Linked DNA regions of Homo sapiens: region 1 is linked to region 2. The links are contacts of gene promoters, found by promoter capture Hi-C in human tissues and cell types (Jung and others, 2019). All regions are on one chromosome and are shown on one strand. Each heading gives the region's core, a stretch centred on a gene start or on the middle of the fragment in contact. The rest is flanking DNA. Distances are from core to core; before and after follow the strand shown. Region 1 has its middle 46 kb from the start of LINC02729. Region 2 holds the start of MYOD1 (myogenic differentiation 1).

Region 1 (5,574 bases), core at 1,690-4,189, 69 kb after region 2:
TGGGCTGCAGGCGCTGTTCCCCATGGGCCGTGTGCAGGCCGCAGGCCGGGGAGCCTTTCCCGCCTAATCCGAGGGGTGCTGGCAGTGGGGAGGGAGACAGCTGGGTGTAACTGATCTGCAAAGGAATGGAATGGTGCAGGCCCCCCAGCACTGGGCTGGGCCGTCTGCAGGCTGCCTGTCCCAGCTGCTGAGCCTTAACCCTTCCCTCTCTTATTTCTTTCTCCCCTCCATTGGGAAGTTGATGTCACCCAGCTTAGCCAAGTCCCGGGAAACCCCTTGAGAAATAAGCTTCCCTAGCTGGGTATCTACACCTTGAAAAGGATCCAGCTAGGTGATAGTTTCTGCTGGGGGGCTTGGGTCCTACCTGGGAACTTCCTGTCTCAGATAGAGACAGGGCTTTTGGAAGGCCTAGTGGGCGACTCAGATAGTAGAGGCTGTAAGGTCAGCACAGGGAGGCCCACCCTAGGTTGGAGCTCAGGGAAGATTCTCTGGCAGAGGCAATGGAATGGGCACTCGGTTTGGAGTCTGGCGCTGCCTCCACCATTGCTCACTTTGCAGTGAGACTCTGGGTGAGTCACTGTCATTCCCTGGGATCAGTTTCCTAATCCTGAAAAGGAGGAGTTTAAAGATATTCCTAAAGGTTTAGGAAAGAAGGTTCATAGTGGAAACAATAGCTCCATTTATTAAATGCCTACCATAGGCCAGGACTCTATCTATAAACATTCTCACCATCACTTTGCCAGACTCTCATTTCCATTTTGGTGATGAGGAAACTGAGACTTGGAGAGTGTAAATCATACAGCTGTTCAGAGATAGAACCTACCCCACAATCTAGGCCCTTTACTAGATCCCGAAGATCAGCTCCAAGGATCCGTAAATGGTGATCTGGTTCAGTGGAACAGAGGCAAGATGGCATAGCTGGATAGGGCACACAGAGGCAAAGGCTTAGCAGTGAGCCCTGAGTCTGCTGGATGGAGGGTGGGCTGGGACTGAGTCCGGCTCTTTGAGCCTGCTTTTCTCTTGCTCTGGTCCCAGCTGGGCTGGGATTCCCTGGCTCAGCCCAGCAGCCTCACATATGAGCACAGCCTCTGCAGTTGTCCAGCCCTTTCCCATCCATGATCTCACTTGACCCTCTTGCCAACTCTGTCGCAGAACCTATTGCTTCTCCTCACCATGGGGAACTGAGGCTTAAAATTTGCCAATGTTCTACAACTGCTAACTGGCCAAAGAGAAACTAGAACCTTCTTTCCACTGCTCCCTCTGGCTTCCAGGAAGAAGGAGCCTGGAGTAACAGGGAGGAAGAGCTCCCAGGCACCCAGCAATCTTCTTAGTCTCTTTCTGGGCTGAGAAAGAAAGTGTGAGTGTGGGCTCTGGAGTTAAACAGTTGTGAGCTTGAGTCCTAATTCCTCCACTCTCAAGCTGTGCAAGTCACTTACCCTCTCTGAGCCTTAGCAGCCTCATCTGTTATGAATGAAGATGTCGTGGGAATAAATGAATGACTGCTGGAGCCAGACCTGCATCTCCCCTCCCTGGGCAGAGCACAGGCACAGGCTGGCATGGGAAGCCCCAGTCAAGCAGAAACTAGGGCTGGGGGGCTAGAGGCCAAAGGGAGGGCTCCTAGGTGCTGCTGTGTTGTAGCTGCTCTGCAGGCTAGGCAGGGACTGTCGAGGGAGAGGAGGAAAAGGACACTCCAGGTGAGGCAAAGACACAGAGGCAGGAATGGACACTGTGTAGGAGGACCAGCTATAAGGTTTGGGTTTGGCTGGCTTGGGAGAGGTACGGTCTTCATGGCCAGTGAGAAACAAGCCTAGAGAATGGTTTATCTCTAGAGAAAGAGTTGTCCAAGGGTTCAGGGGCTGGACCAGTTACCCAGCATGCTGCCTGCCCATCTCCACCCACCCCCACCCAATCCCTGGGGTGCTGTGTTCTCTGGGCAAGGGGCCGGGGGCATCAGGGAGGTGGCAGAGGGAGGGGGAAGCATGCAATCCCAGCTCGGGAGAGACAGCTGTGCAGGCCTCCTGCCTGCTGCAGGGGATTAACTGGCACCGCACAGTATGTTAGGGAGCACCTGGCTCCCCGGTTCTGCCCACCCCTGCACCCTTTAACTCTTTGTTGTCTGGGCTCCTCACCTTCAAGCTTAGAGGTATGTTCACACTTATTCTCCAGTGTCCTCAGTGTTCCATGTTGGAAACAGAGATAAAGAAAGACCTAAGGTGGGGTCTGCCCAGCCAGAGGTATCTGTGTCATCACTGTCCCTCCTCATGCCAGCTATGGCCCTCTGAGACCCTGACTTTTCTCCACAGCAAAGCTTTTCTGTTTCCACTGGCTTCTCCAGGGCATACAGTCAAATCACTGCCTACCTCAAGTCCTCCCCTAACTCATGCTCTATCTCTTCTTTTCCAGTCACACTTTCTAGCATTGTCCTCCTCACTCTCTCCGCTTCCTCACAGAGACAGCACTGCCCACCAGACCCATCTTCCTGGGCACACAGCTGGACTACGTTCCCCAGCCTTTCTTGCACTGAGATGTGGCCAGTTCAGGCCAGTGGAATCCGAGTGGAAGGGAGTGAGCCACTTTCAGTCCTGGGCCCTGCAAGCTTCCCGCACATGCTCTCCCTGCACCTCGGCTGGCTGATGCCTGAGATCACAGAGACTCTGGGAGGCCCGTGCTGAAGGTGGTAGAACCTCAAGACAGAGGAGCCAGGATCCCTAAATCATTCTGGACACAAAGCTCTAGCTACCTACTTATTTTGAGTGTTTTTTTTAAATAGGAGGAAGGAATAAGCTTCTATCATGTTTGAGCCTTGCTGTGTGTGAAAAAAATAAATGAGGAATTTGGTCCCCTCTCCTCTACCTCCCCATGTGGGACAACCCAGAAAAGCAGGGAAGAGGGGTCTGGAACTCAGAAAAGAGGGTTGGAAGGGGAACAGCTCTGGTGAAGGGAGAGGAACAGGATGTTACCCATGAAGCTGAAGTTAGATATGTAGCGTTTGACTTCCAATTTGAAGCTGTTCCTGAACCTGTCGTCTGCCTTCCCCAAACCACCATGACAAGTGTGCAAGACTCCAAGGCCTTGTGTGGTCAGAGGCTTGGGAAAATGTAAACAAAAGCGCCACACGTGGGTGAGGCCAGGGGGATCTGGGCCTGGGGAGGGGGCCTGTGCAGACAGTGCTTACCACAGTGACAAGGAAAGGGTTAAGGGGGTCTGTGAGCAGGATTGGCTCTCCTCACAGTGAGGGTAGTAAAATCAGCATGTCGCCTCCAATTTGCTCCGGCCTGACCTTGAACGTGAATCATTCCATCACAATGTCCTTATTGATTTCCACAGGAAGAGGATTAAGCCCAGAAAATCAGGGCGGGAACTTGAGCCTGCACCACGGAGAATGGGATGGTTCTGCAGCTCAAAACTCCTCGTGTTTGCAAATACGTCACAGGGGGCTGCAAGCTGGGCAGCCACCCTGCTCGGCCACCAATCTCTCAGTGGCTCTGCTGGTCCTGGCTTTCTGTTTCCTCAGCTGTGTGTGGCCACTGGAGTTGCCTCAAGCTTTAAGTAATGCACAGAGTGTGGGAGGAAACAGGAATGGGGGAGATGCCACAGATGTCCCTAGGGCCTTCAGTCTATTCTAGTCTCTTCTGATGATCTCCTGGGATCTGAAAAGGCTATTCTAGGACCAAAGTTGCCACTGAACTAGTTGGTGGCTCAACAGCCAGGAAGGACCTTCCTCAATCTTGAAAACTCTTCAAGGGAATGAGACGTGTGTGTGTGTGTGTGTGTGTGTTGTGTTGTGTTGTATGTGTGTGTGTATTACCCACACAGGTGCATAAAGGAGGGATCATTCTGTGTGAAACAACCCACAATTTCCTGTCATCATTTAACATATCCTGGAGAGCTCAGCATGTCAGTACCCAAAAGGGCTACATAATATTCACGAGTGTGGCTGTACCAGGTTGCTTAATCCTTCCCTACTGACAGGCATTTGCAGTTGTTACTAATTTTTAACACTCAGGACAATGCCGCAATAAACATCCTGGCGCATGCCTCTGCAGGAATTCTTTCTTTTGATGCTATCTGTTTCCTATTGCTCCTGTAACAAATTGCCACACATTTAGTGGCTTAAAACACACACATTTATTCTCTTACAGTTGTAGAGGTCAGAAGTATGAAATCAGCTTCACTAAGCTAAAATCAAGGGGCCAGCCAGCCTGTGTTCCTTCTGGGGGCTCTAGGAGAGAATCCAGTTCCTTGATTTTCCAGCTTCCAGAGGCTGCCTGGATTTCTTGACCAGTGGCCCCTTACACTAACTTCAAAGTACATCACTCCAACCTCGCTTCTGTCATCCCGTCTCCTCTCTCTGACTCTGACCTGGCTGCCTCTCTTATATAAGGACGCTTGTGATTACACCGGGCCCACCTGGATGACCCAGGATAATCCTCTTATCTCAAGATCCTTAATCACGTCTGCAGAGTCCCTTTTACCATGTAATGTAATATAAATATTCGCAAGATCCAGAAATTAGGACTTGTACATCTTTGGAGGACCACTATTCAGCCTTCCATAGCTACCTAGAAATAGGATGACTTAGTTAAAGGAGATGTGTATTTTACATTTAAATCACCATCTACAAATTGTATCTATTTGATATGAACACTCGCATTAACACTGCTGGCACTGGCTTTTTGGAGGGCAATGGACAACACTAATTAAGGTTCAAAGTCTTCACTGTTTCCTGCCTTCCCTACATTGCAAGACAGGGTTGGAGATTTTCCTCTCATTAATCTTTCACTAAATTGTCTTACCCTGAAAGAAAAAAAAGTCAGTATCTTCAGGAGGGATCTAGGAAAATAGAACTGGGAATTTTGACCAAAAATTTAGAGTGAGAAGTTGGCTTCCAGTAGGAGTAGGCGGGGGGGTTGTCTGAGCGGGAGTGGAGGTGAGGTGGCCGGGGGGAACATCCAGGCATGCTGGGACTCCCACAGTAGGGTGTGATCACCAGGAGCTATGGCCATCTGAGAGGACACAGTGGGAGTACAGCAGGAGGGCTGGAGAACTGCTGCCAACTGGAGCCAAGGAGGGCCAGGCTACTGAAACTGTGTCACCAACAATGGGTCAGATGTGGGGAACAGGTGTCTGAAAGCCTGGAGCCACCCTCCCGAATTGAGACTGCAGAAAGACATTTAGGCCAAGGCTGGCTGACTTAACCTGGTGCCCTCTGCCTCTGTCTATGCAACAGCTGATGAGGAGTGGCCTGTTCAAAAGCTGCTTTCCCGTAACTGGACACAAACAGATGGGAAGGGTGATGAGGTGAGGAATGAACAGCCAGGGATACTATATAGCCAGCAATGGCTATAAAAACTTCCTTATGTCTTAGTCAAAACATCTTGCCATATAATAGAACCAGGATTTTGAACCTAGTTCACTTTAACAGCCATGTTCTGTTTAAAGTCATGTTCTGCTGAAATCAGAGTTCAAAATTCTGAAAACTATTGATTTAGGGAGTGTGTATAGCTAAGGAGATAACTGACTACAAGCCATGGATCATCATCCCTGATAGAGAAGTTTGGAAGCCTTGTCCCA
Region 2 (5,217 bases), core at 1,138-3,637:
GTATTACAAAAAGTGGTCCTGAACCGGGAAACGGGTTGGGGGTGGGTTACGGTTACACCTGCTACATTTGGGACCGGAGTGCACTGGGTCTCACGCCCCCCCAAATAACCGGTGCATCCCGGGGCAGGGCTTAGGTCTGCGAGGGTCTCACCCCCATGGGGGAGGGCGCGAGAAAGCTGAACCTAGCCCCTCAAGGTTCAGCTCTGGCCCACCGAGGAACACGGAGCGGCCATCGCAATGGGTCTCCGAGAAGGGTGCTGCGTGGAAAAAACCGCGCTGTGTCCTTGCCCTGTGGGGCGGGGGCGGAAACTTCAGTTCTCCCGCCTCTCCTACCTCAAGAGAGGTCGCTTTTAAAGCGCTGTTGGGAGGGGGGCATTTAAGTTCAATCTTTTGGGCGCGAGGGACCCTAGGGGCACCATCCCTCGGGCGGGTGGGCGGCCACCATCCCCTCAGAGCACCTGGTATATCGGGTTGGGGTTCGCACCCGCAGGGCACTGCGGGGCGGCGTCCGGTGACTGGGTGGGGTCGCCGCTGCTCTCTCCCTCGCTGGGGGCGGCAGCCTCTTGCCTGCGCGGAGGCGACTCAGAAGGCACGTCCGCCAGCAGGAGGGCGGGCGCCGCAGGGCTCTCGGTGGAGATGCGCTCCACGATGCTGGACAGGCAGTCTAGGCTCGACACCGCCGCACTCTTCCCGGGCCTGGGTTCTGCGCGGGGAGGGCTCGGTTAGTAAGCAGGGGTGGGGCCGCGACAAGCCTCCCACCCCCGGGCCCAGTACTTTGAGACAGATTGGAAACTGAGGACTTTAGTTAGAGTCCGGGACAATCCAAAAGACAGGGAGCTACTTGCTTAGTATTTCATCTCCTGCACCACTTCCCAGGACATAGGCGTGTGTGAGTGGGGGTGGGAGCGTCCTAGATAGAGGCCAGGACAGCTCCATGAAGGAGGAGGAGCGAGCAGGGAGAGGCCCGGAATACCCACCGCTGGGCGCCTCGTTGTAGTAGGCGCCTTCGTAGCAGTTCCGCCGCCGGGCGCCGCTCGGGGGGCCGCTGTAGTCCATCTGCAAACAGCAAGGGCGACTGAGTCAGGCCCGCGGGACGGCTCGAGGCCCGAACACCAATTCCTGTAGCCGCCCCCTCCCTAACTCTAGCCTAAGGCTCTAGTTCCGGGCCCAGACCTGTCCTGGTTGGGGGGGTAATTACGGGTGGGTAGGAGATGAGGTCTGCAACATGCAGGGCCAAACCAAGGGCGGACAGTCACCAAGGGGCGCAAATTTACATTTTGGAAGTAGGGATAAGTAGAGAAAAAGATCTTCACGTTCGCGCTGCAGTGTTCTAATAGCGCCCCCAATGGGGCAGCTCGAACGCTTGCCCGCACACTTCCAAAACAGGCTACCCCAGTGACAGCTGCCCAGGACAAGGGGGTCCTCTCTCTCGGGAAGGATCCTGGCCCAAACCTCCCGCAAGGCCAGCTCCCCGCCCTCGGAAACGCGTCCCTGATATCCCGAGCGCCGCCCTAACTTCCTCACTTCCTGGGGTCCCGGCCTTACCATGCCGTCGGAGCAGTTGGAGCGCGGGCTGGACGCGTCGGAGTCGCCGCTGTAGTGCTCGCCGCCGCGGCCCGGGGGCAGCGGGCCCGGCGCATAGAAGGCGGCTGCGGCGCCAGGGGGCGCGGCGTCCTGGTCGCGCAGCAGAGCCTGCAGGCCCTCGATATAGCGGATGGCGTTGCGCAGGATCTCCACCTTGGGCAACCGCTGGTTTGGATTGCTCGACGTGCAGCGCTTGAGTGTCTCAAAGGCCTCATTTACTTTGCTCAGGCGGCGCCGCTCGCGCATGGTGGCGGCCTTGCGGCGGTCGGCGTTGGTGGTCTTGCGCTTGCACGCCTTGCAGGCCCACAGTAGGCAGCGGCCCGCCTGGTGGTGCCCGCTGGGCGCGCGCACATGCTCGTCCTCACGTGCGCCCGGGGCCGGGTGCACCGCCGCGGGGAAGTGCGAGTGCTCTTCGGGTTTCAGGAGCGCGCCCACGTGCATCAGGCGCGGGTCCAGGTCTTCGAAGAAGCGCAGGTCCGGGGAGTCGAAACACGGGTCGTCATAGAAGTCGTCCGTTGTGGCAAAGGAGCAGAGAGAGCCGTCGGGGGCCGTCAGGTCTACGTCGCGGAGCGGTGGCGACAGTAGCTCCATATCCTGGCGGTGGCGCGGCACGGTCCTGGCTTCGCCCAACCCAAGCGGCAGAGAGTGGCCGGAACTTTCTGCCGCTCGGGAGCCCCGGCTGTAGATAGCAAAGTGCTGGCAGTCTGAATGCCCACCCACTGTCCCCCACCCCTCCCTCTCCTGTCCGGCCTGATTTGTGGTTAAGGAAAGCGGCGGCAGCGCCCCAGGGCTTCCTCACCCCTAGCTTCTCGCCAGGCGCCCTGGGCTATTTATCCGTAGTAGCCTAAACGCCCCGGAGCCCAGGCGGGCAGCTGGGGGAGGGGGAGTCCGAGGCCAATAGGAACACTGCGGGGCGGGGCTTGGGGGGGTCCCCGGGGTGGCCGCAGGGGCCCGCAGACTGGCCAGCCAGCCCGCCCCTCCACACTGGCGTGCGCGCTAGGTCCCCTACCGGGCAGGGAGGGAGGGAGCGACCGGCAGCCCTAGGCGGCTGCACTTGGCTCTCCGGCACGCCCTTTCCAAACCTCTCCAACACCCGACTGCTGTATCCGCGGGAAACGCTGGCTGCGCGCGCTCACCTCTGAGCTGACTTTCAATACTCCTCTGTCCCCTGATTTGTGGGGGACCCATGGGTAGAGCGGCTGTAGAAATCAGGTCGTGAGAGATTTGGAGAGAGGCAAGGCATTGGGGGCACAGAGCTGAGGAGTGAGACCGTGAAAGAGGGACCGAAAGAGGCTGAGAGACACGCAGAAAGCAGAAAGCTTAGAGCGTCAGGGGCAGAGAAACGCACGAGTGCAACAACAGGCGGAGAGACCCCGAGAGTTGAAGTGGGCGAGCCCGAGACAAACGGGTCGTAGAGGCTCTGATATTCCGCCAGTCCCCGACCTGGGAGTTGCTCAGCAGGTCGTGGGCCCAGTCCTTCTTCCCTAGACGCTTAGAAACCCAGCTATGGTTGTACAGGAATCGGAGATTGCTGCTAAAGCTTCGCGCCAATCTCTCCAAACTCGGATCCTGCCCAGGTTAGGAATCCCCTCCATCTAAATCTGCACGTTTCCACAGCAGGGGTGTCCAGTGCCATGCCTGGGGTCTAGGCTGAGCTGCCTCTTCAGCTGGGAAGAAAACCCTTCTGCTCGGGGCTTGGCTCCGCCTCACTCGCGGTGCTGAGTCAAGGAAAGTGCATTTCGCCAAGGTGTCAAACTTCAGGACCTGGCCTGAGAACCTGACCTCATCTCACCTGAAGTCTCCGAGAGTGCGGTTTGCAGACCAGTTGAGTGCAGACTCCAGAGTTTCCCAACTGTGTGATTTTGTGGAAGTCATGTCTCCTTCCTGAGCCTCAGTTTCCAGTTATAGATTTGGGGATGACAGTAATTTCTTGGAGTAATTGTGGTGGGGATGACAGTCTGAAGAGACCAAGGATATGGAAGCCCTCAGGCGGTGATGTAGGGTTATTCGAGCAAGGGGCTTTCAGAGTTGGATGCTGTGTCCCGCAGGCTTACAACTCATCTGTGGTACCATGCCCTGACGGAGTGCCACGAGTCTCCAGGCCTTAGCTGTGTCTCTTTCCTGCAGCCTCACTGGAAAGGCTGGAAACAGGAGGAGGCAACCACCCCATGGGATGTGGGATATCTGGCTCCCATACAAGCCTCAGCATACCGGCCACCCCCATGGGGGTCTCTCAGCCTCTTCCTGAATCTGCAGTTCACACAGTCCTCTCAGCACTCTGGCTAGGAATCTCCGTTGGCCATACATCCCTGCCTGGATCTCCCCTCCTGGAAACCAGAAATTTAAGCAGGAGTGATCTTTGTGCCTTTCCCACTAACTTCTGGAAGGCATTCTAGCTGGCCGTTCTGGGCCCTAAGAAGTCCTCCCTTCCCACAAAACTCAGAGGGCTCTGTTGGGGTCCTAACTTCTTCACTTCTCTGCTGCTGGTAGTGGTGCTGAAGGTCTCCCTTCATGAAGTACTCACCTCGCTTTACTCCATAGGGCCCACCTGTATTTGTTCATTCAGTAAAGTCTACATCATGGAGCAGCAGTGACAGTAACTCTAAATCCTGGCAGAGGCAGCAAAGTCCTGGCCTCACCCCACCCAAGCTGCAGGGGGTCACCCGGAAATCCACATATTGTTAGGTATCCATTATGTGGCAGGTACCAGTCCAAGTGTGGGGCTAGAGCAATGAACAAAACCAAGACTCTGCTTACATGGCACTTACATTGTCAATGTAAGCAGGGTGATAGACAATGAACAAATAAGCAAGGAAGTATGTGATGCCAGGAGGTTAGAAGCCTTATGAAGAAAAAGCAAGGCAGGGAGACACAGTGATGAAGATTATGGAGTGATTAGAGAAGGCCTCTCTGCTACATTTAAGCAGAGACCTGAATGAAGAGAATTGGAAGCAGATACCTGGAGATATGTAGGGCCAGATAGAGGGATAAGCATGTGCAAAAGTCCTGAGGCAGGACCATGTTTGGCAGATTCAAAGTATGGCAAGGAGGCTCATATGTCTGCAGCAGGGTGAGTAAAAGAGATAGTGGGAAATGGGGTGAGAGAGAGAGAAACAGGATTATATTCTGAGATGGCTTGAGCCATCTCACTGGAGGGCTTGAGCGGAAGAGAAGAATATCACTATCTGATTTACATTTTAACAGGAGCATGCTGGTTACTGGAGGGAAAGGGCAGAAGGAGGGAGACCAATTAGGAGGCTATTGCAATAATCCCAGTGAGTGGAGCTGGTGAAAAGTGGTGGTTGAATTCTAGATATATGTTTTCAAGATGGAGCTAGCAGTATTTACTCACGATTGCATGTGGGAAGTGAGATAAGCAAGGAGCTAAGGATGACTCCTGCAAGAATGGAGTTGAGAAGACTAGGTTTGTGGGTGGTAGATTAAGTGTCCAGGTTTGGGCAAAATTTGAAATGCATATCGGATATCCAGATGGAAGTGTGGATTAGGCAGGGGGATTTTTAAGGCTGGAGTTCCCAAGGAGAGGTCTGAGTATGAGGAAGAGCTGTCCATTCTACCTCTAAGACCTGTCTCAAGTCAGTCCATCCCTAGTGTCACCATCCTGGACTAAGCTGT

What was found. Contacts are between HindIII fragments. The study calls those that stand out against the background at their distance.
Region 1: a contact is called between a fragment that was not itself captured here and the fragment with the promoter of MYOD1 in region 2, in 2 of the 25 tissues and cell types used here (H1 embryonic stem cells and pancreas).

The regions. Positions count from the first base shown.
Region 1 is chr11:17,648,263-17,653,836 of GRCh38, reverse strand. No RefSeq gene overlaps it. Among named protein-coding and RNA genes, the nearest start is that of LINC02729, 46 kb to the left of the region's middle. RefSeq lists an enhancer at 2,875-3,375. The HindIII fragment of the contact is 3,454 bases long and covers 1,213-4,666 here.
Region 2 is chr11:17,716,741-17,721,957 of GRCh38, reverse strand. It overlaps MYOD1 (myogenic differentiation 1), which reads right to left and starts at 2,387. Exons shown (of 3, transcript NM_002478.5): 1 at 1,546-2,387; 2 at 978-1,056; 3 at 1-703. The coding sequence starts at 2,175. The coding sequence ends at 450. RefSeq lists enhancers at 415-926, 927-1,438. The HindIII fragment of the contact is 9,376 bases long and covers 1-4,857 here.